Linked DNA regions of Homo sapiens: region 2 is linked to region 1. The links are contacts of gene promoters, found by promoter capture Hi-C in human tissues and cell types (Jung and others, 2019). All regions are on one chromosome and are shown on one strand. The core of a region is centred on a gene start or on the middle of the fragment in contact, and the rest is flanking DNA. Distances in the headings are between cores, read along the strand shown. Region 1 holds the start of PDK2 (pyruvate dehydrogenase kinase 2). Region 2 holds the start of PPP1R9B (protein phosphatase 1 regulatory subunit 9B).

Region 1 (5,056 bases), core at 1,669-4,168:
TCTGCAAGGGTGCCACCAAAGTCAATGAGGATTAGCTATTTACATGCCCAGTGACAAGGGACACCCTTGTTTATTCTTCACGTGACTGGCCTTTGGCTAATTTCATCCAGTTACTTAACTTGAGTTCTTGAGTGAACTCTGCTGAGCCTTTCCCTCTGTTCCTGCTGCAGTGCGCAATAAACGTTTGGTCTTTGCCCCTCCAAAGCTCTTCGGGAAGGTACTGTGCCATCCTTGTGTGTATCTGAGTATTTTCCAACATCCAAAACAGTCTGTCTTGCAGCTTGGGTTATATAATGTATTTGAAAACTTACTTCTTGTTTCTGCTTCCCAAAAAGTTACCCCCAAATAAATACTGCCTAACAGTTACTGGAGTTCCAGGTCTGGGCTGCTGGCTAATGCTGACATCAGCCTGAATTGGGGTTTTGGCTGTGAAAACCATGCTTTCCTAGGTGGATCCTGTGTTTCCAGAGAAAGGTGGGTGGTAAGAAGAGGGCTAGACACAGAGACTAGGAGCTTGACCTCAGTCCTGCTCTGGCCTCAGATTCCCACGTGACCCTAGGCAACTCCAAGCGCTTGGGGCTTTGGTGTCTCCTGTCTGTCCCCACCCCACCCTCAAAGCTGCTAAAAGCTTGGAGATGCCATCCCTGAGCCCAGGGACACTGGCGATGGAGTGGGAGGTGCAGGGACTGAGCCAGGGGTCTCACCAGCTCTGCACCAGCTGCACGGAGGGTGTGCTCAGCACTCGGTCGGGAAGCAGGTTGATCTCTTTCATGATGTTGGCCAGGCGCACAGGCAGCTCCTGCCTGAGGAAGGTGAAGGAGGTTTTCTCACAGGCATTGCTGGATCCTGGCAGGAGAAAGAGGGGTGAGCCACAGAGCCACAGACTATGAAAGCCAAAGGATGTCTCGGCCAGGTCAGCTAAACCCTTCATTAACAGGGGGCTCAGAGAGCAAGTGACCTGCCCGGGGCACACAGCAAGGCTCCCCATCCCCTGCAGGGCTCAAACACCTACACCCCATGCCTAACACTTCAGGAGGTGTCATCCTCTCCTCATCCCCAGCTGAACCCTGCTTGCCTTTAACCACAGTGGACAGGGCCACTCCTGGGCCCATTTGGAGCTGCCTCTGGCCTCAGTCACCTCACTTCTCTTTCCTTCCCTCCCAGCACACTCACTTTGAGGGGCTGATTCCAGGGGACAAAGGAGCCTGGGAAACCCATCCCTACCTAGGACTGGGCTCTGGCTGAGGGGGGCTATGGCTAGACCACCACTGCAGGCTCCCAGTGTTGTCTCTGGCCAGCCCACCTCACCCAGCCTGGCCTGAATGCCCATGTGGGGCTGCTGTGTCTTAATGCCCATCCATGGGGCAAACGGGCCTGAGAACAGGAGTCCAAATGCCTCGGTCCTTGTCTGGTGTCAAGATGGAAAGGGTGGGGGACCGAATATGGCCTTGGCCCAGGGTCAGGGGCCCTGGGTTCCAGTCCATCAGGCTCTGCTTCCAACTCTGTCACCCAGGCCATGCCATCATCCTTTTGAAGGTCTCAGTTTCCCCCATAGTACTACAAGTTGACCAAACTCTACTGTGAGCCCCTCACAGCTGTGATGTTTCTGTAATTAGGGTGCAGTTTGTGGGGACAGCTGCTGGGGGCTAGGGGTGGGCCCAGGAGGCTTTCCTACATGGGGGAGGCTCAAGACTCAGGCAGGGCAGGGGTGCAGGCAGACAAGTCCTGAGGAACAGGTGCCTTATGTCTCGGCTGCCACCTCTCTGTTCCCGTCCCATCATTGACGCAGCTGCAACCCAAGCTAGGCACTATCAACTCAACTCTTGAGAGACTGCCCCCCACCCCCAGTCCCCAGCTGGCACCATGGAAATACCACATAGACAGACAGGGCCCACACAATGCCCATTTCAGCTGCCACGTTGGCACAGCCTCCCTCCTGCCCCAGGGCCACCCCCAGGTTGCTGGTAGTGGGCGATCCTGACCTAGCAGCCCTGGGGCAGCCAAGGGAGGTATAGGCGGCTTGACTCCACATCACGGTGCCTGGGGCCCCTGCCCAGCTGGGGAGAGGCTGCCAGGCCGGAACAGATTTGATCTTCAAGTGTCCTTGCCCACTGGGGCAGCTAGGGTCCAGCTCCTTCTGTGGGTGGATGTCTACCAGTCAGGGCACTGTCTCCCAATGGCATCTTCTGAAAGAGCCCCCTTCCCCAACTGCCCCTGGCTTAATCTCACCCTCTGCCCAGGGGTGTCTGACCCTTCATGCCCAGTCCAGGTCTCTCTACAGATGGCTGCACCTCTAAACCCTGCCTCCTCACTCCCACCAGCAGACCCCCGGTTTCCTCTGGTGGGAGGAGGGGCCCCTACTCCTCCAGTCATGAGGACAACTCCCATTAACCCTTTCGCGTCTGGATACCACCCTACTCCCTTCCTGCAGTAACATCACAGCTTCACTGCCCCTTACTCTTCAAGACCCTTCATGAGGCCCACGAAGAAACCTCGGGACCGTCCTTGTAAATGCCCCCCATTCCCATCAGCAGCCCCGTCGAGAGGCCCCGGCCGGTTCCTGCTTCCCCATTAACTCTTTCCTGCCTGTACCTTTCCAAACAACCCTTCTCTGTCACTCGGGGCCTTTCTTCTCCTCCGTCCCCCTAGCCCCCGGCTGCCCCTCCCAGCGCCCCGCCGGCCTCCGCTGCCAGCCGCCTCCCGCCCACTCCGTACCGAAGTCCAGAAACTGCTTCATGGACAGCGGGGACGGGGAGAACTTGCTGAAGTGCTCTATGTACTTGGGCGCCCCTGCCAGGGACGCATTCTTCAGCAGCGCCCACACCCAGCGCATGGCTGCGGCGGCCGCGACTTTGGTTGTGGTCCCCGCGCGGGCAGCGCTCGCGCACCTTTCGGCCCAGCGACGCGGTTCGGCCGCCTCCTCCCTACCCTTGCCCTGGCGGGCATTCCAACGCCCAGCCAATCGGCTCGTCATGGCGCCTCGACGTCGCCAATGGCCACTCACAAACAACTCCGGGCGAACCAATAGCCTTCCGCCCCGGCACGTGGCTTCCCCCGGGCCCGCCCCCTTAACCCACGCTTTGCCGGGGCGGCCTGTTGTTTTGGGGAGGCCGCGCCGAGTTCCCACCTCCCCTGTGTTCACTCCTCCCTTTCCTCCGCGGGGCGAAGCCCGGGTTAACCCCTTCCTTCCCAGAGCCCCGCCAGCCCTTTCGCTTCCTCTTCCACGCCTGCCTTTCCCTTGCTACCCCCTCGCATCTCCTTCACCTGCAGGCTCCTTTTAACCCTTCCTTTCCAGAGTTGTCTAGGTAGCTTTCAACCAATCCCTTTTCTCCAACTCAAAGGTACCTGTTTCACCTGTCATGATCGTTACCTATCCTCCCTTAACGGGTCTTGGGGATTCCCAGTCCGGATGACAGTGACCCAGACTGCGAATATTTGCAAAATTCGGAACCAGGGTGCAAGCCTATACGAATCCGTCCTGTATATATGCAGCCCACCCGCTTCCACAAAGATCCAAGCGGCTCAGGAAAAGGCGGAGTTTGCTTTTCCAACTGAAAAACATCCAGAGTAAAAACCATCACTACTAGTGGCGGTGGAGGCAGCAGCTATCGTCCATGCCAGTTAACACTTTCATTTTATTATACAGCTCATCTGACCGAACATAAAGCCTTGGACATCTAGCGCGACCACCTGAGAAAGCCACCTCCTTCGCACCGGGCTTCCTTAGAGCAAGATCCCAGGAGGTGAAGTGTCTCTGGGAGGCCCGGAGCCCGTCCTTCATCAGCGGCCCAGCTTCTCTTGGAGAAAATGTGACGCGCCCTCTTGTGGCCGAATGTGGTATCTCCCATCGTGGGTTTAGGGCCCGACCCGCCACTTTGATGCTTTCTTTGCTCGGTGACATTAGCCTAATACGTGTTAGGCTTTATGCTGGGAACAGGGAACACAGACAGGATCAAGAAATGGCCTTTTTCCTCGATGATTTCATTTCTAAGTTTCAGAGATAGCTACATAAGTAAATAATTAGCTATAACTGAATGTGATTGTAATACAGACCTCACAGAGCAAAGCTTCACATATGGAAGGGCCTCTTAGCTGGATGAATAATAAGCTATATGCCAGGCACTGTTTACAGGCATTATCTCATTTAATTCTCTATTTTATTATTCTTAGCCTCATTTCATAGATAAGAAAACCGAGACTCAGGGATCATTCTCAACTGCAAATCTGACCTTATTACTTCCTTGCTCACAGCCTTTCAATGGGCTATTTTTTTTTTTTTTTTTTTTTTTTTTGAGATTGAGTCTCCCTCTGTCGTCCAAGCTGGAGTGCAGTGGCACAACCTTGGCTCACTGCAAACTTCTCCTCCCAGGTTCAAGCGATTCTCCTGTCTCAGCTTTCCAAGTAGCTGGGATAACAGGCATGTACTACCATGCCTGGCTAATTTTTGTAATTTTAGTAGAGACAGGGTTTCACCATGTTGGCCAGGCTGGTCTTGAATTCCTGACCTCAAGTGATCTGCCCGCCTCAACCTCCCAAAGTGCAGGGATTACAGGTATGAGGCACTGTGCTAGGCCATCAATGGCTCTCTTCTTCTTACTGGAGCCTTTCCAGTTGTCACAAGTCGATTGACTTTTGCTTAATTCTCCAGACTCCTCTCTCTACATTCCCCCATGCAGCTCCCAGCCATACCTGTCTGCTGCCTTGAACCAGCCTCTAATCTCTAAGCCACTGCAAATGCATCTCTTCTGTCTGGATCATTCTTTCTTCCCACCTTCACCTGCCCATTCTTCAGGTCTCAGCTGCTTAGTCATCCCTTCCTCCTGGAAGCCTTCCTTGATCCTGCCAAGCTGGGTTATAGGCTCCCTTCAAGGGCTCCTTAGATCTCCTGGTCTTAGCAAATATTCGCAGTCTGGGTCACTGTCATCCAGACTGGGAATCCACAAGACCCCTTAAGAGAGGACAAGGAAAGATCAGGACATGTGAAACAGGTACCTCGTCGAGGAAAGGGATTGGCTGAAAGCTACCTGGACAAATCCAGGAAGGAGGGGTTAAAAGG
Region 2 (5,056 bases), core at 650-3,149, 55 kb before region 1:
GTTTCCTGGGCAACTGGGCAAAGATGCAGGTGGCATTTGGAAAGTGTGAGGTCTGGGTTCACTTCCGGCTCTAGCTCACAACCTAGATCTTCCCTCTTCCTTAGCACCAGCCTCAGGATCAGTCCTGCGGTTCCTGGCCCCTCCCGATCCCAATATCCAGGGTTCCCAGGCGGCTTCCCCACACCCCATCCCCCACGCTGTACTCTAAGCTCTTTTGCACATGGTAACGCGTTAATATCCCACAAAACCCACACACACCCCTGCAGTGGAGTGGTAGGAGGGCTCCCTTTGCCAGCCCTTCCAGGCCAGGGGGGAGAGAGTGGGAGATTAGGAAAAGGAGGAAGAGGATGGAGGGGAAGAGGGCGGGGGAGGAGGCAGAGGCCGCAGAAAGGCCTGAGATGCAGGAAGCAGCTGGGAGTGGGGGGAGGCTTTGTGCCTGAGTTGTTCTCTGGGTCCTAGGGCCCATTGTGTTCACCAGTTTCTGGGATGTGTGGAATGAACCAGCTCACCTGGACCTGTCCAGAGGGCGGACTCTCACACCCAGGGCCCAGGCAGCGCCAGCACCCTAGCTGTGTATGCGGGGGGTGCAGAGGGCATCAAACAGCTTTCTGGGTTGCCAGGACAGGGGATGTGTAAGTCACTGTCACCCTCCCCACCCCCCCACCCCAACCGGAACACAGTGGCCAGGATCCTTTAAATCAGAGACCCAAGTTAGAGCTCTCACTGGCGAAACTTTGGCCCCAGGCCTCTCGAATTCCTGCTCCCAAACCCTTCCTTCCGGTTTGAGAGGCAGGAGTGCCAGGGTAGGGGCCTGAAGACGGGTGCACAGCAGACAGGCGACAGGACATCCTTTCCAGACTTCGGCAGTTTTGGTGATCCCCTGCTACTTGGATGACGGGGTTCACCTCCTTTCTTCACCACCCCTCCCCCACCATCGAAAGGTCACCAGCGCTGGACCAAGGTTTCACACCTCCAAGGGGGCCAAAGATTGCCTGTAGTGAAGTGTTAAAATGCAGATTCCTGGGTTCAGCCTCGGAGATTCTCCTTCACAAGGTTCGAGAGAGATCCCAGAAATCTGCATTTTTACCAAGTGCCCAGCGATTCTGATGCTAAAGGCTTGAAGCACACCGAAGAGCTAGCTCCGAGGACACTGAAGAATGAACCTCTGCCCCTCCCTACAAACCCCCTCCCCTCACACTGAGACCATCGTGGATGTACTGCCTCCCCCCAATATTTCATGGAGGTGCGGTTCTGTGGGTTGTGACCGCAGTCAGAAGTTGTGATGGAAGCAGGTTGAAGAGTGCTGGCCAACGTCCGGGGGCAGCGGAAGGCTCTCCGCGAGGGCTGGGGAGGGGAGGGGATCCGTTCGGGTGGAGGGGAAGGGGAGGGCTCACAGGCTCCGGCCCCGGAAATCCGATCCCTTTAGGACCCAGAGGTGCCAGTCCCCCAGCGGCGGCTGCGAGAAGGGCAGCCGCTCGGTCTCCGGCAGCCGCCGCTCGGGCAAAGCCAGAGAAAGACCGAGGCTCGGGGCACGGGGGGGAGGGAGGGAGGGAGGGAGGCGCGGCGGCGGAGCGGCCCGGGCCGGCGGAGCAGCCATGGGCGTTGGGGTGCCGGGCCCCCCGAGAGCCGAGGCCTCCGGCCGGACTGGGGGACGCCCGGGCTGCCAGCCCCGCTGACACCGTCTCGGACGATGTGAGCCGGCGACACCGCGGCTGCTTCGCGGGCAGGGCGCGCGCTCCCACCGGCCCCAGACGCCGCTTTGCTAATTTGGGTGGGGGCGACCGTACCAGGCCGCTCGGGCTTTTGAAGCGGGGCTGGCTGTCTTCGGCAGCTTGATTGGGGGAGGCGACCCACACACAGGGCGCTTGGAGATTTTTTTTTTTTCATTTTTTTTTTTAAAGCGGGATTAACTGTTTTTGGCAGCTTGGTTTTGGGGGGACCCTAAAAAAGGCCTTCGGGGTTTCTTTTATCGGGGGGAGGGGGCGGTGGTCCCGACTTGGCCAGCCGCCTGTTGAAGCGGGGGAGCGGGGAGCAGGGGCATGCGAACCCGGCTCCCCCCACCATGATGAAGACGGAGCCACGGGGGCCCGGGGGTCCCCTCCGGAGCGCCTCCCCGCACCGCAGCGCCTACGAGGCGGGCATCCAGGCGCTGAAGCCGCCCGACGCGCCCGGGCCCGACGAGGCACCCAAGGGGGCCCACCACAAGAAATATGGCTCCAACGTCCACCGCATCAAAAGTATGTTCCTGCAGATGGGCACGACGGCGGGGCCCTCGGGCGAGGCGGGCGGCGGCGCGGGCCTGGCCGAGGCCCCACGGGCGTCCGAGCGCGGCGTGCGCCTGTCGCTGCCGCGGGCCAGCAGCCTGAACGAGAACGTGGACCACAGCGCCCTGCTGAAGCTGGGCACCAGCGTGTCGGAGCGCGTGAGCCGCTTCGACTCCAAGCCCGCGCCCTCCGCGCAGCCTGCGCCGCCGCCGCACCCGCCGTCCCGGCTGCAGGAGACGCGGAAGCTGTTCGAACGGAGCGCCCCAGCGGCCGCAGGCGGCGACAAGGAGGCCGCGGCGCGGCGGCTGCTGAGGCAGGAGCGCGCCGGCCTGCAGGACCGGAAGCTGGACGTCGTGGTGCGCTTCAACGGCAGCACCGAGGCGCTGGACAAGCTGGACGCTGACGCCGTGTCCCCCACGGTCAGCCAGCTCAGCGCCGTCTTCGAGAAGGCCGACTCGAGGACCGGCCTCCACCGCGGGCCCGGGCTCCCCAGGGCCGCAGGGGTTCCCCAGGTCAACTCGAAGCTGGTCAGCAAGCGGTCCCGGGTGTTCCAGCCCCCGCCGCCGCCGCCGCCCGCCCCGTCGGGGGATGCCCCGGCCGAGAAAGAGCGATGCCCCGCAGGGCAGCAGCCCCCGCAGCACCGAGTGGCCCCTGCCCGGCCGCCCCCCAAGCCCCGGGAGGTGCGCAAGATTAAGCCGGTGGAGGTGGAGGAGAGCGGGGAGTCGGAGGCCGAGTCGGCGCCCGGGGAGGTGATCCAGGCCGAGGTTACGGTCCACGCGGCCCTGGAGAATGGCAGCACCGTGGCAACTGCAGCCAGCCCCGCGCCCGAGGAGCCAAAGGCCCAAGCGGCCCCGGAGAAGGAGGCGGCGGCGGTAGCGCCGCCAGAGAGGGGGGTGGGCAATGGCCGGGCCCCGGACGTGGCCCCTGAGGAGGTAGATGAATCCAAGAAGGAGGACTTCTCGGAGGCGGACTTGGTGGACGTGAGCGCCTACAGTGGGCTCGGGGAGGACTCTGCGGGCAGTGCCCTGGAGGAGGACGACGAAGACGACGAGGAGGATGGGGAGCCCCCCTACGAGCCCGAGTCGGGGTGCGTGGAGATCCCGGGGCTGTCGGAGGAGGAGGACCCAGCCCCGAGCCGGAAGATCCATTTCAGCACGGCGCCCATCCAAGTAAGTGAGCCCCCCCGCCCTGCCCCCGCGCCGCCCCTGCCACGTGCACGCGGCCGCCCCCGCTCGCCAGCCAGCCAGCCGGGTTTGGCAGGCTGAGTCAGCCCCTGCCACCCAGCCCCCTTCCCAGAAGTTCCCACCCTCAGGGGGGCGTGGGGGAGTTCCAGCTGTTTGTCAGAGAGGGATTTTCAGGTGTGCGAGGGGGGTGGCCTGCCCCGACCTGCCCTCAGGTTCCTCCGCCTGCTGCCCCGCCCCGCCGCTCCGCGGAACCCGCCCTGCCCCACGCGGGTCCTGGGACACCTGCTTTCCCTTCCTCACCCGGACATTCCTTCCTCCAGAGGCTGCCAGAGGCTGGGGTTGGGTAGTGTGAAGGGGTGTGTGTGTCTTCAGGAGAGACATTTGCCCTTCACTGGGTAGAGAGGGGGCCGGGGTGCTTTCCCCCTGTATGGGAGCTGGATGAGGTGAGAAAGGGGAAAGCCAGGAACTTCTCAAAACGAAGCTGCAGGGGACCGCAGGCAGCCCTTCCTCTATTCTGTTTGTACCCCCACCCCAACTTTGCAGAAGTGAAAGAGGGAAGCAGATCGTGAGGGTGAGCTGGTCTGTGGCCATGTGACTGGCTGGCGCCGTGTTCCCTGGGGGTCCCTGCAGGCCAGCTGCCCGGTCCTCCTTGCACAGGGAGGGGCACTTTGTGTGGTCCTTGATGGGGAGAGGCCTTCTGCAGGCATGGAGGAGGAGGAGGTGGGGCTGGGATCCCCCTGGGTGCCTGGCAGTAGTGGGCATGCCTTTACTCTTGGCTGCTCAATAGGACAGACTCCCATGGCCTTGGCAGGCCCCAAGTGTTCTTGCCACATTCTCTGGGAGCCCTGAAAGAGGGATGGGAGCTGCCCCTTTTGGGGGTCTCATCCCCACGGCCACTATTGGTGGTTGGTTTGTGGGTTGTGCCAGAGCTTTGAGATCCTCAGAACAGCCCTGATGGGGAGGGAACATCCCCTGGGGGGAATCAAAAACCCCAGGCCACCCCTCCCCCCACTTCCCACCACCCTCCACTCTTGGCTAGCACATTCAGCCTGCAGGGTTCTTCCTCACCGCCCCAGGCTCAGCTGCACCCGGCCCCAGGTCCGCCCCATGGAAGTGTCCAGGTCCCTGGACTCTCCTTGGCCTGGACCCTGCCCTGCCTTTACCCTTCCCTAGCCAAAGCACCATCTGTTTGCTTGTCGTTTCCATAACTACTCCTGGACTCTGAAGCTTCCCAACTTTCCTCTCACTCGCCCAGAATGTCAGCCTCTGCCCCTCTCCCACCTCCCACCCCAGCAAGAGGCCTGAAAGGTTAAAAGTGAGTGGCTCTCAGGCCAGCCTCTCCCCTGGGCTGGGACCTGCGGGGTCCTCTCCCAACCCCTTTCCCCTCCTGAAGGCAGTGGGGTTCTGAAGGGAATGGGGGACTGTAGTGTTTCTTGGGACTCTGAAGCAGAGTTTGGATCCCCCCACCCCACCCCCACTAATTTTGCGAGAAGTCCGATTCCCTCAGAGTTGGAGTTTGGTCTGGGCCTCTGACTGTCTATATTTGACGCCTTACCCTGATTTTTCAGTAAAAAATAGCACATGATTTGGAGCAGTGCTTCCCGGCTC

Evidence for each region. The method cuts DNA at HindIII sites, captures the fragments that hold promoters and counts their contacts. A contact is called where the count stands out against the background at its distance.
Region 2: the fragment with the promoter of PPP1R9B here is called in contact with the fragment with the promoter of PDK2 in region 1 in 3 of the 25 tissues and cell types used here (IMR-90 fibroblasts, dorsolateral prefrontal cortex and hippocampus).

The regions. Positions count from the first base shown.
Region 1 is chr17:50,093,213-50,098,268 of GRCh38, reverse strand. PDK2 (pyruvate dehydrogenase kinase 2) reads right to left here and starts at 2,918. Exons shown (of 11, transcript NM_002611.5): 1 at 2,716-2,918; 2 at 705-846. The coding sequence starts at 2,833. LOC124904024 (a long non-coding RNA gene) reads right to left here. Exons shown (of 2, transcript XR_007065837.1): 1 at 4,690-5,056; 2 at 3,616-3,927. It overlaps PDK2-AS1 (PDK2 antisense RNA 1), which reads left to right. Exons shown (of 2, transcript XR_007065842.1): 2 at 1-371. RefSeq lists enhancers at 1,487-2,002, 2,003-2,518, 3,550-3,759 and a silencer at 3,050-3,169. The HindIII fragment of the contact is 10,814 bases long and covers 1-5,056 here.
Region 2 is chr17:50,147,520-50,152,575 of GRCh38, reverse strand. PPP1R9B (protein phosphatase 1 regulatory subunit 9B) reads left to right here and starts at 1,899. Exons shown (of 10, transcript NM_032595.5): 1 at 1,899-3,433. The coding sequence starts at 2,063. It overlaps LOC124904025 (a long non-coding RNA gene), which reads right to left and starts at 3,841. Exons shown (of 3, transcript XR_007065841.1): 1 at 3,749-3,841. RefSeq lists enhancers at 1,234-1,528, 4,248-4,317, 4,950-5,056 and silencers at 1,539-1,628, 1,699-1,788, 2,438-2,547, 3,398-3,517. The HindIII fragment of the contact is 6,486 bases long and covers 1-5,056 here.